Linked DNA regions of Homo sapiens: region 2 is linked to region 1. Evidence: promoter capture Hi-C in 16 types of primary human blood cells and fetal thymus (Javierre and others, 2016). All regions are on one chromosome and are shown on one strand. The core of a region is centred on a gene start or on the middle of the fragment in contact, and the rest is flanking DNA. Distances in the headings are between cores, read along the strand shown. Region 1 holds the start of NFX1 (nuclear transcription factor, X-box binding 1). Region 2 holds the start of CAAP1 (caspase activity and apoptosis inhibitor 1).

Region 1 (4,412 bases), core at 1,335-3,834:
AAAAGGAGGAAACTCAAAAGACCATCATTAAATGTTTGGCCCGGCACGGTGGCTCACGCCTGTAATCCCAACACTTTGGGAGGCCTAGGTGGGTGGATCACCTGAGGTCAGGAGTTCAAGACCAGCTGGCCAACAGGATGAAACCCCGTCTCTACTAAAAATACAAAAATTAGCCGGGCGTGGTGGTGGGTGCCTGTAATCCCAGCTACTTGGGAGGCTGAGGCGCAAGAATCGCTTGAACCCGGGAGGCAGTTTGCAGTGAGCCGAGATGGTGCCACTTCACTCCAGCCTAGGCGACAGAGTGATAAGATTCCTTTTATTTTTCAAACCAATGGGGCTGTGTCTGTTGTCCCCCTCGGTCCCCAGGGGTGGGGGGGCCTTGGAAGGCAGGGTGGTGTTGGGGGGCTGGGGGGCAGGCTGAGTGTGTGTGTGTGTGTGTGTGTGGGTGTGGGTGTGTGTGGAGTGTGGGTGTAGGACTCCAGTCCCAGCTGCTGCCTAGGCTCCTGTGGGTCCGACCGGGTTCCCCCTCCCCTGTCCACCTTCCCCAACAGGGCTATAGTTTCAGGGTGTCCCAGGCCTTGGCTGGTTGGCTGGGCCCAGCTCCTGGGGGCTGGGCAGGGCAGGGCAGGGCAGGGCCGGGTCCACTTCCATTGTTAGCAGTTGTTTGCAGAATTTTCTCTGTTACCATTCCTCTCTTTTTGTTCTCGCCCAGAGTGGGTGGTTTTTTGTTGTTGTTTTAGATTTTCATGTGAAGGCAGAGAGTTTTTTTTCTTTTTTAACTCCCCATCCCCCTATGCGGGGTGTCATTTCACCATCCACATCCTTGTTTGCGTTTCTGGCCCTCGTCCTCCCTGCCTCTCCTCTGCCTCCCCAACCCCCGCCTACCTACTGCTCCCAGGGGTCTCTCCAGGGGCAGGGGGATTTCAGGAGATGGGGTGGGGGCCAGCCCCTACTGGACCCTTGTAATCTGATTTGAAGACCATCCCCCTGATGGGACCAGCAGCCCCGCTGGCCCACTGGGGGTCCCTCTTAACATCTGCTTGTTGTGGGGGTCAGTGCCACGGTCTGCTGGGGTCTTGGCACTGTCTTCCTGGCCGGGGCCTGGCACCTTAGCCCCCAGCCGGCCCGAGTGGGGGATATCGACACCCCCAGCTAAAGCACAAGCACCTTAGTCATCCCTCCTCTCCCCCTGCCTCCTGGCCTGCCACCCCACCCCAGCGTTTACCCCAAAGCACAATGCCCTGGTCACTTGGCAAGTGGCTGGGCCTGACGGAGGCCAAGGGGCAGACCGGGGCTCCAGCCAGACCCCCGAAAGGAAGCAGGTGCTCCCCCACTTCCAGGACTTAGTTGGGGCGGGGGGCCCAGCTCCTGGGCCTAGGGTCTTCTCACCCCCACCCCCTTGTCCTGGGTAGGCCCCTGCCTGCCCCTCTCTGCCTTTTCCTCGGGTGTCCCTCCTCGAGCCCCTGCGGCACTGGCTTGGGTGGCAGAGCCCACTTGTTTCAGGGACCCCAGGAGGTGGTGCCCCCTGGCTCCTGGGACTGTGTGTGGGTCTGGGGGGTGGGGGGGTGGGGAGAAGCGTCGGGCAGGGGGTGCAGGGGAGGAAACTCCTCACCAGGAAAGCCAAAGACAGGGTTGTGCCTTACCTCAGGAGCCACCCGTTCCCCCTTGCCCTGCCGTTCACCCTCCACCTTTCCCCCCGGGCGGCCTGCTGCTTTTTCCTTCTCTTCCTCCCCTGCCCTGCCCTGAGCTGCATGGTTCCCCTACCCTGGGAAGCCAGGAAGGAATCTGAATGGAGAATCACCAACCACCAAAGAAAAAAAGACTGCGGGGCCCTCCCCTGCCAACTCCCCTTCCCTGGCCGCCCACTCACCCACACCTCTTTCACGCAGGACAGGCTGCCCACCCTGTCCACGTGAAGTGCCAACGCCCTCCCCACCCTGGGCCGAGCCCCCACCCCTCCCTGGGCCCCCAAGTGAGATTGCACATTTAACTACTGTAAGGAGAGGAGCGGCGTTGGCAAATGTGAACCATGAGAATATCGGTGATACTGATGAGAATAAACGCCTTTGTAAAAAAAAAAAAAAAAAAAAAAGTCTGGAGCCAGGCGTGGTGGCTCGCCTGTAAGCCAAGCACTTTAGGAGGCCAAAGCGGCAGGATCGCTTGAGGCCAGGAGTTGGAGAGACTAGCCTGGGCAACATGGCGAAACCCGTCTCTACTAAAAATAGCTGCGCATGGTGGCTCCGCCTGTAGTTCCAGCTACCGGAAGGCTGAGGCGGGAGGATTAGAGACTGAAGCTATAGTGAGCCATGATCAGACCACTGCACTCAAGCCTGGGTAAGGCAGCAAGACCCTATATCAAAAAATAAAAAAAGGAAAACCACAATGATTACGCAAGTCGCCGCCCTCCCTCCTGCGATTGTTGCTATTTCCATCCAGCTACTAGTCTCCTCCTCCCGCCCGACACCTGGCGCGTCTATCTGACGTCACGAACGCGCCACACAGATTCGGGCTGCGCAACCTCTGTGGCCGTCTACACGGCGCGCAGATGCGAATATTCTCGCGGCGCCGGAAGTCCGGGGCACGTGACCTGGTGACAGTGCTGACTTGGCTGTACAGCTCGATCTAGGTTCTGCGGCACGGGATGGCGGAGGCGCCTCCTGTCTCAGGTATTGTCCCGGCCCGAGCGGGACTGGGCCCCTTTCAGGGAGCGGAAATTGGGTCAGTGACGAAGTTCTAGGGCCTCAGCCACTCATATCGCGAGAGTAGCACATGCTAGGGCGTAGGATAGTGGCTCGGAAGGGCCAAGCCCCGCGCATCGTGCGTACGAAGATCTGTGTCTTCTTGGACTAGATGGTGAAGCCCAGTAGCTGGGTTTCGGAGGAGAGAGGACTTGTCCCGGCGCTGCGAGTCGATGTGGGTGCCCTGCCTTCCCACAGGCTGTTTCTGGGGCAGCGGCGCACTGACCTTCGACAGGCGGGCGTCGGCCAGGTCACAGCCAGTGACGGTGGCGGGCTCTTGACGTGTAGGGTGTGGTGTGCTCATACCGCCTGGAGTGGTGGCGTGGGCGCGAGCCGAATTCCAGTAGTTTAGAGTCTCAGCCTGCTGCGAACCCCGTGTGACTCAGTCTCAGTCTCCTCATCTGTCAGTTGGGAGTAGATAAGTTAATTCCTGTGATGGCTCCCGCCCTGTACTGTACCTATTCTGTAATTGTTCACTCACTCCCCCTCCTGGAGTTGCCTCAGTGTGTAGAGACAGCCTCATTTGTTCGTTGATATAACATCCATTTCCTCAGGGTGTTCCATAGATCAGTGTTTTCCAAATGTGTTGGACAGCAACCAAAAGAAACATTTTGCATCGCGACCTTAAATATTGTACACTTACATAAATATAAAAGCGAACCAGAAGTTTCTGGAAGCAGTGAGGTTGGTTGGTTTGTTTTACAATCAGCAATATATTCTGTTTTCTGTTTCGTTTAAAAATATGTCACAGCCCACTGCCTTCATTTGATTTTATGGCCCACTCTGGAAAACAGGGCAGCAGTTTGCAGAATGGAGTTTGGAAACCATTGGTTTGAATCTCAGCTCTGTCCCTGACCAGCCGTTGGGGCACCAAGAAGACCATATATGTATTTGTATACTGGGTGGCAGGTAAAATGTATTTATTACTATGGTTCTTAGTTTAAAAAGTTAGGGCCGGGCGTGGTGGCTCACGCCTGTAATCCTAGCACTTTGGGAGGCCGAGGTGGACGGATCACGAGGTCAGGAGATCGAGACCATCCTGGCTAACACGGTGAAACCCCGTCTCTACTAAAAATACAAAAAATTAGCTGGGCATGGTGGCACGCGCCTGTAGTCCCAGCTACTCCGGAGGCTGAGGCAAGAGAATTGCTTGAACCCTGGAGGCGGAAGTTGCAGTGAGCCAAGATCGTGCCACTGCACTCCAGCCTGGGCGACAGAGTGTGACTTCGTCTCAAAAAAAAAAGTTGGAAAACACACTGCATTGGTGTACCCTAGTCTTGATGTGGATATTAAGTCTTCCTTGGGGTTGGAAAACTTTTTGGGCTGGGTATTTTGTTATTCTCCTCACCTAGTCCTTCACCAGATTCTCTAAACTGGATCTATTGATCGTCTCATCCACAGGCTCGTTTCTGACTCATTTCTGTACCCTTCAGTGTTTGAAGAAGAATTCGGTGGGGCCTAGTTGTGAGTCTTCGTGTTGAACTTTGGTGTTGTGCCCAAGTTATTACCTCCAACCCAGAAAGTATCTAATGAGGCAAAATCTTCTAGTCCAAAGACCTCCTTACTCCTTTTCATGTGCTTTAGTTTGATTTTGCTTTAGTTCCCATTCCATGTTCGTATTTTAGCATCATCTTTAGCCCACACCCTCATCATCAAAGTCTTTAAACAGAAGCC
Region 2 (4,550 bases), core at 1,709-4,208, 6.4 Mb before region 1:
GGTAATATCCAAAACTGAATCTAGAAGGGGTGGGAAAACTGAATAGATCTATATTAAATAATTTTTTTAAAGAGTGTCTTAAAAAATCACTCTAAAAAACTCCACTAGACCCAGATACTTCTGACAAATATTTGAGAAGAAAATATAAACCATTCTAGAACACACCAAAAAAACACAAAGCTTCCTAATTCAATCCATTACAAAAATAAAAACTACAGTCTGATCTAATTTAGAAACATATACATAAAAGTTGGCCGGGCACGGTGGCTCACGCCTGTAATCCCAGCACTTTGGGAGGCCGAGACGGGTGGATCACGAGGTCAGGAGATCAAGACCATCCTGGCTAACACGGTGAAACCCCGTCTCTACTGAAAATACAAAAAATTAGCTGGGCGTCGTGGCGGGCGCCTGCAGTCCCAGCTACTCGGGAGGCTGAGGCAGGGGAATGGCCTGAACCCGGGAGGCGGAGCTTGCAGTGAGCCGGGATCACGCCACTGCACTCCGGCCTGGGCAACAGAGCGAGACTCCGTCTCAAAAAAAACAAAAAAAAAGAAACACATACATGAAAGTAAAAATACTGAATTCCAGCCAAGTACAACAAACTCAACAAACCAAACAGCACTTGTCCCAAGACTCCAAAGACTGTTCAACATCAACTAACTTATCAACAAATTACATTATCTGACTAAAGGAGAAAAAGTATGTGATCATCTCAACAGAATGCCAGAAAACCACCTGATAAAATCTCTACATAAACTGTTTCTACTCTACCAAAGAGAATAATGAGCAGAGGATATGTACAGAAAATTACATAAGAAGAAATCAAATGGCAAATAAAAATATTAAAATGTTCAATCTCACTAATAAGGAAAATAAAAATTAAAACAAACTATTAATTTGACCCACTAGTCTGGCAATTTTTTTAAAAAATGCCATCAAAATGTCATCAAAAGCTAGTTAAGAATCTCAGAAATAGGTATTCTTATATATATACTGTTTGGACTATAAATCTGTAAAGTCTCATTTGGAAAGCATTTGGTGGCATTCATAAGTTTTTAATAGCATAAACTTTGACCCAGGAATTTCAGTTCTCACACTCTCTCCCAACATAACTCTTGTAGGAGATATATACATAAAGGTGTTTGTATTGTAGTCACAACAATACAAAAAAACCTGCACACCCAAATATCAGAAAAATATAATACAATACCAGGCAGTCAGTAAAAATAACAAACCACGTATATAAAGAAGCCTATCACAACAATGCAGGTATTCAACAGCGGGAATAACACAATACAGCTTAAGTGTAGGAACTTAAAAACACGTATCTCACGAGGAGTGATTAAAAGAGGCCGCGTATCAAAATACTAATGGAGGGGCAAGAAAAGGGACTTGACGCTTTCCCTTTATTTCCTCATTGAATGAATTTAAAGTACCTATTCATTCATTTGTTTTCAAACAAATTATGAACTTTTTTAAAACGGCGTTCTCTTGGCAGACTGGTGGCGTATAAAGAACATGGCTTTTGTAGTCAGATATTTGGATTCAAACCTAGGAGCTATTAACAAACTCTGTGACCGTGGGTAAAGTTTAACTTCTTTGGGCCTCAATTTTCTTATCTCTAATGCGGAGTTAACCATATCTACGAAAAGGTGAAGACGAAGGGAGAAGTGTTTGGCTCGCAAGGGAAATGAAGGCTAGCTTCCAACTCGTATTCTTCCGGCAGAGTGAAACCATAGGAGTGGAAGGAGCCAAGAGTTTAAAAAATAAATTAAAAAAAAAGTGATCAGGAAATCCAGAAACTTGAAGTTCAAGATTCAAGACACGGATGGGAGTGTGGGGCTCACCAGGACTTAGGTAGGAACATGAACCTCAAGGACGGACGACCTTGAGATTGCCGCGCTAGCAGTGAGCTCCAGCCTGCGCCCCATCCCTCTGGAAGCCCGACTTCTTCCGAAAAAGCAGCAGCTCCAGGAAGCGGCCAGAGGGGCGCGCACGCACCTGCTGCAAGGAGCCCGAGACGCTGGAAGAGTCGGTACTCCTCCGCTTCCGGCGCTCGCTGCGCTCCACGCTGCTCCCGCCCCAACAGCTGCCGCCGCTCCCACCGCCGGTGACACTTCCACTAAAATTGGCGTTCCCACAGCAGCTGACGCTCCCGCAGCCCCCGGCGCTCCCGCAGCCGCTAGTGCTTCCACTGCTGCCGCTGGCCAACGCGGGTACGATGTCCGGGGCCGCGAGCGCTGCGGCCGCCTCCTGACTGCTACGTTTGCGCCGTTTCTCCCGGGAGGACTTTTTCCCCGTCATGATCCCTCTGCTGCAACCATCGGAGGAAAGTCCGCTGTCTCTGGTGCGACCGAAGCCCGACTCCTGCGGCCGTGGGCGGCAGGCACTGGCGTCGCAGGTTATGCGTCACTTCCGGCCGTGGCACAGAACGTGGTGAAGCGTTATGGGCCGGGGTGGCAGGGGGGTTGCCATAACCAGTTGCGCTTCCCCCTCCGGTCGCGGAGGTCGATTTGAGTGTGTAGCGGGTAGCCTGTCTAGTCAGAGTTTGTTTTGTTTTGTTTTTATATCTCTACAAAGGATAGAAGGTGGAACTTACGTCCTTTTAACTTCAAAACTTTTTATTGTTAGTGTTTTGTCTGTTTACAATAAGGTTGAAGTATAGTTGCTGATTCTCCATTTCCGTTTACCTCCAAATCTTAAGATATTAACAACGCTATGACAATAAAGAGAATAGGGAAAAGTTGTTCCATCTCATTTTCCTCATCACCTGGGCAAATTAGGTATTTCTTGCGTAGAGTCTGACATGGACAAGTAGAGCTTGAGTTCGTTTTTGAAAATTGAGAATGGGTCAAAGCTTTATGAGATTTTATGGGTGGATGTAATCTAAATAGAAGGCAGATTTTAAGACAAGGGAGCTAGAACACTTAAAACGTGAACCAAGGTCTTTGTCGTTTCAGCAGGGGCCTTTAGCCACTGAGGGAAAAAGGTAGAGCCTGGGGCAAAGCTAGCTGGGTGGTAGTAATTCTGTGCCTTTCCCTGGGGTAAGAAGCAATTAAAGAAGCTTCCCTTCTCTTTGTCTCCTATTTGTCTCAGTCATTCAACAACTACTTAAATGCCTAAAACCAGCCTAGGGTTAATAAATAGGGACACTTCCAGCCCTAGGAAAACTGTCTTCCCCCAGGCCCCACTCTTAAATTGGCCTTGTAAGGTAAATCCTGGGGCTGAGCCCACTGTGTTCCCAGGAGTTCCGTTAAGTATCACACTCATTGGAGTCATACCTGAAAGGATTGAGAGTGTTGTGTTCACAGATAGGAAAAACACATAAAATTAATAACATGTTACATTTATAAACCTGTTATGAATTGTGTCCCTGAAACCATCATAATTTTAATAAAACTAAATTGCTAGATTTTTTCTTTTTTCTTTTTTTTTTTTTTGAGACGGAGTTTCACTCTCGTTGCCCAGGCTGGAGTGCAATGGCACAATCTCGGCTCACTGCAACCTCCGCCTCCCGGGTTCAAGCATTTCTCCTGCCTCAGCCTCCTGAGTAGCTGGGACTACAGGCATGCGCCACCATGCAGGGCTAATTTTGTATTTTTAGTAGACAAGGGGTTTCTCCATGTTGGTCAGGCTGGTCTCGAACTCCCGACCTCAGGTGATCCACCCGCCTCAGCCTCCCAAAGTGCTGGGATTACAGGCGTGAGCCATCGTGCCCTGCCAAATTGCTGGATTTGTGACAAAAGATAAGCTTTTAGTAGAAGCATAGCTAAACGTTAACCAACTTTTCCTATAGCCCACTTCCTTATAGCTGCTTATTGCTTTATAGATATCTTTGACTCGGTTAAGAAATCTCAAGTTTTCCATTTTGAGATATTTACCAGATTCTGTACTCCAATGGTGTTACAGAAGTTAAGAAATTATTTTAGGCAGATAGAGAGGTAAAGGGGTCTTTGGGAAGTTTTTTTTCTTTTAAAGCAGCTCCAGAAATGTTTCTTGTCTAGCAAAAAAGCTGGGCTGGCAAGCTATGATATGCAAATGCAGGCCGTTAGAAACTGGGTTTACTCAGTATGGCGATTCCCCTCTTCTTCTTGTCCCCACATGTGCCTAGCAACATGGCCATCCCCACATATCCCCACATGTGTAGAACATTGTGGCACCCTACATTCGCATATTAAAAGGCTAGGGTGGGAGGGCCACTTTTTTTGCAGGCTACGTGAATGACATACCTGGTCAAACCAATTCCCTGGGTCATATGCAAATTAGTCACCACCTCCTCCAGCCTCATAATATAACTGGCTCTTGTCTGCTGCACCCAAGGTTCCCTCTTTCATCTGGGAGCCCTCTTCCCTCTGGTTCTGTATGAGGGAGCCTCTTCTTTCTTGCCTATTAAATTCTCCGCTCCTTAAAACAATTCCACTTGTGTCTGTATCGTTTTATTTAAACCAGCACGAGACAAAAGACTGTGGTGTTCCTCCAGTCATTGGAACCATATCAGTGGGGTCACTGATGCTACTCAGTCTGAAGACCCCTTCTGAGAAACGAACTCA

What was found. The method cuts DNA at HindIII sites, captures the fragments that hold promoters and counts their contacts. A CHiCAGO score of 5 or more calls a contact.
Region 2: a contact is called between a fragment that was not itself captured here and the fragment with the promoter of NFX1 in region 1, in 1 of 17 cell types (non-activated CD4 T cells). The highest score is 5.4, in non-activated CD4 T cells.

What each region holds. Positions count from the first base shown.
Region 1 is chr9:33,287,932-33,292,343 of GRCh38, forward strand. NFX1 (nuclear transcription factor, X-box binding 1) reads left to right here and starts at 2,585. Exons shown (of 24, transcript NM_002504.6): 1 at 2,585-2,666. The coding sequence starts at 2,642. It also overlaps the pseudogene LOC100862682. RefSeq lists enhancers at 514-1,475, 2,181-2,600, 2,611-2,660, 2,630-3,829, 2,811-2,860. The HindIII fragment of the contact is 6,050 bases long and covers 1-4,412 here.
Region 2 is chr9:26,890,412-26,894,961 of GRCh38, forward strand. CAAP1 (caspase activity and apoptosis inhibitor 1) reads right to left here and starts at 2,391. Exons shown (of 6, transcript NM_024828.4): 1 at 2,002-2,391. The coding sequence starts at 2,304. RefSeq lists enhancers at 1,790-2,369, 1,941-2,120, 2,201-2,420, 2,370-2,949, 2,551-2,620. The HindIII fragment of the contact is 207 bases long and covers 2,856-3,062 here.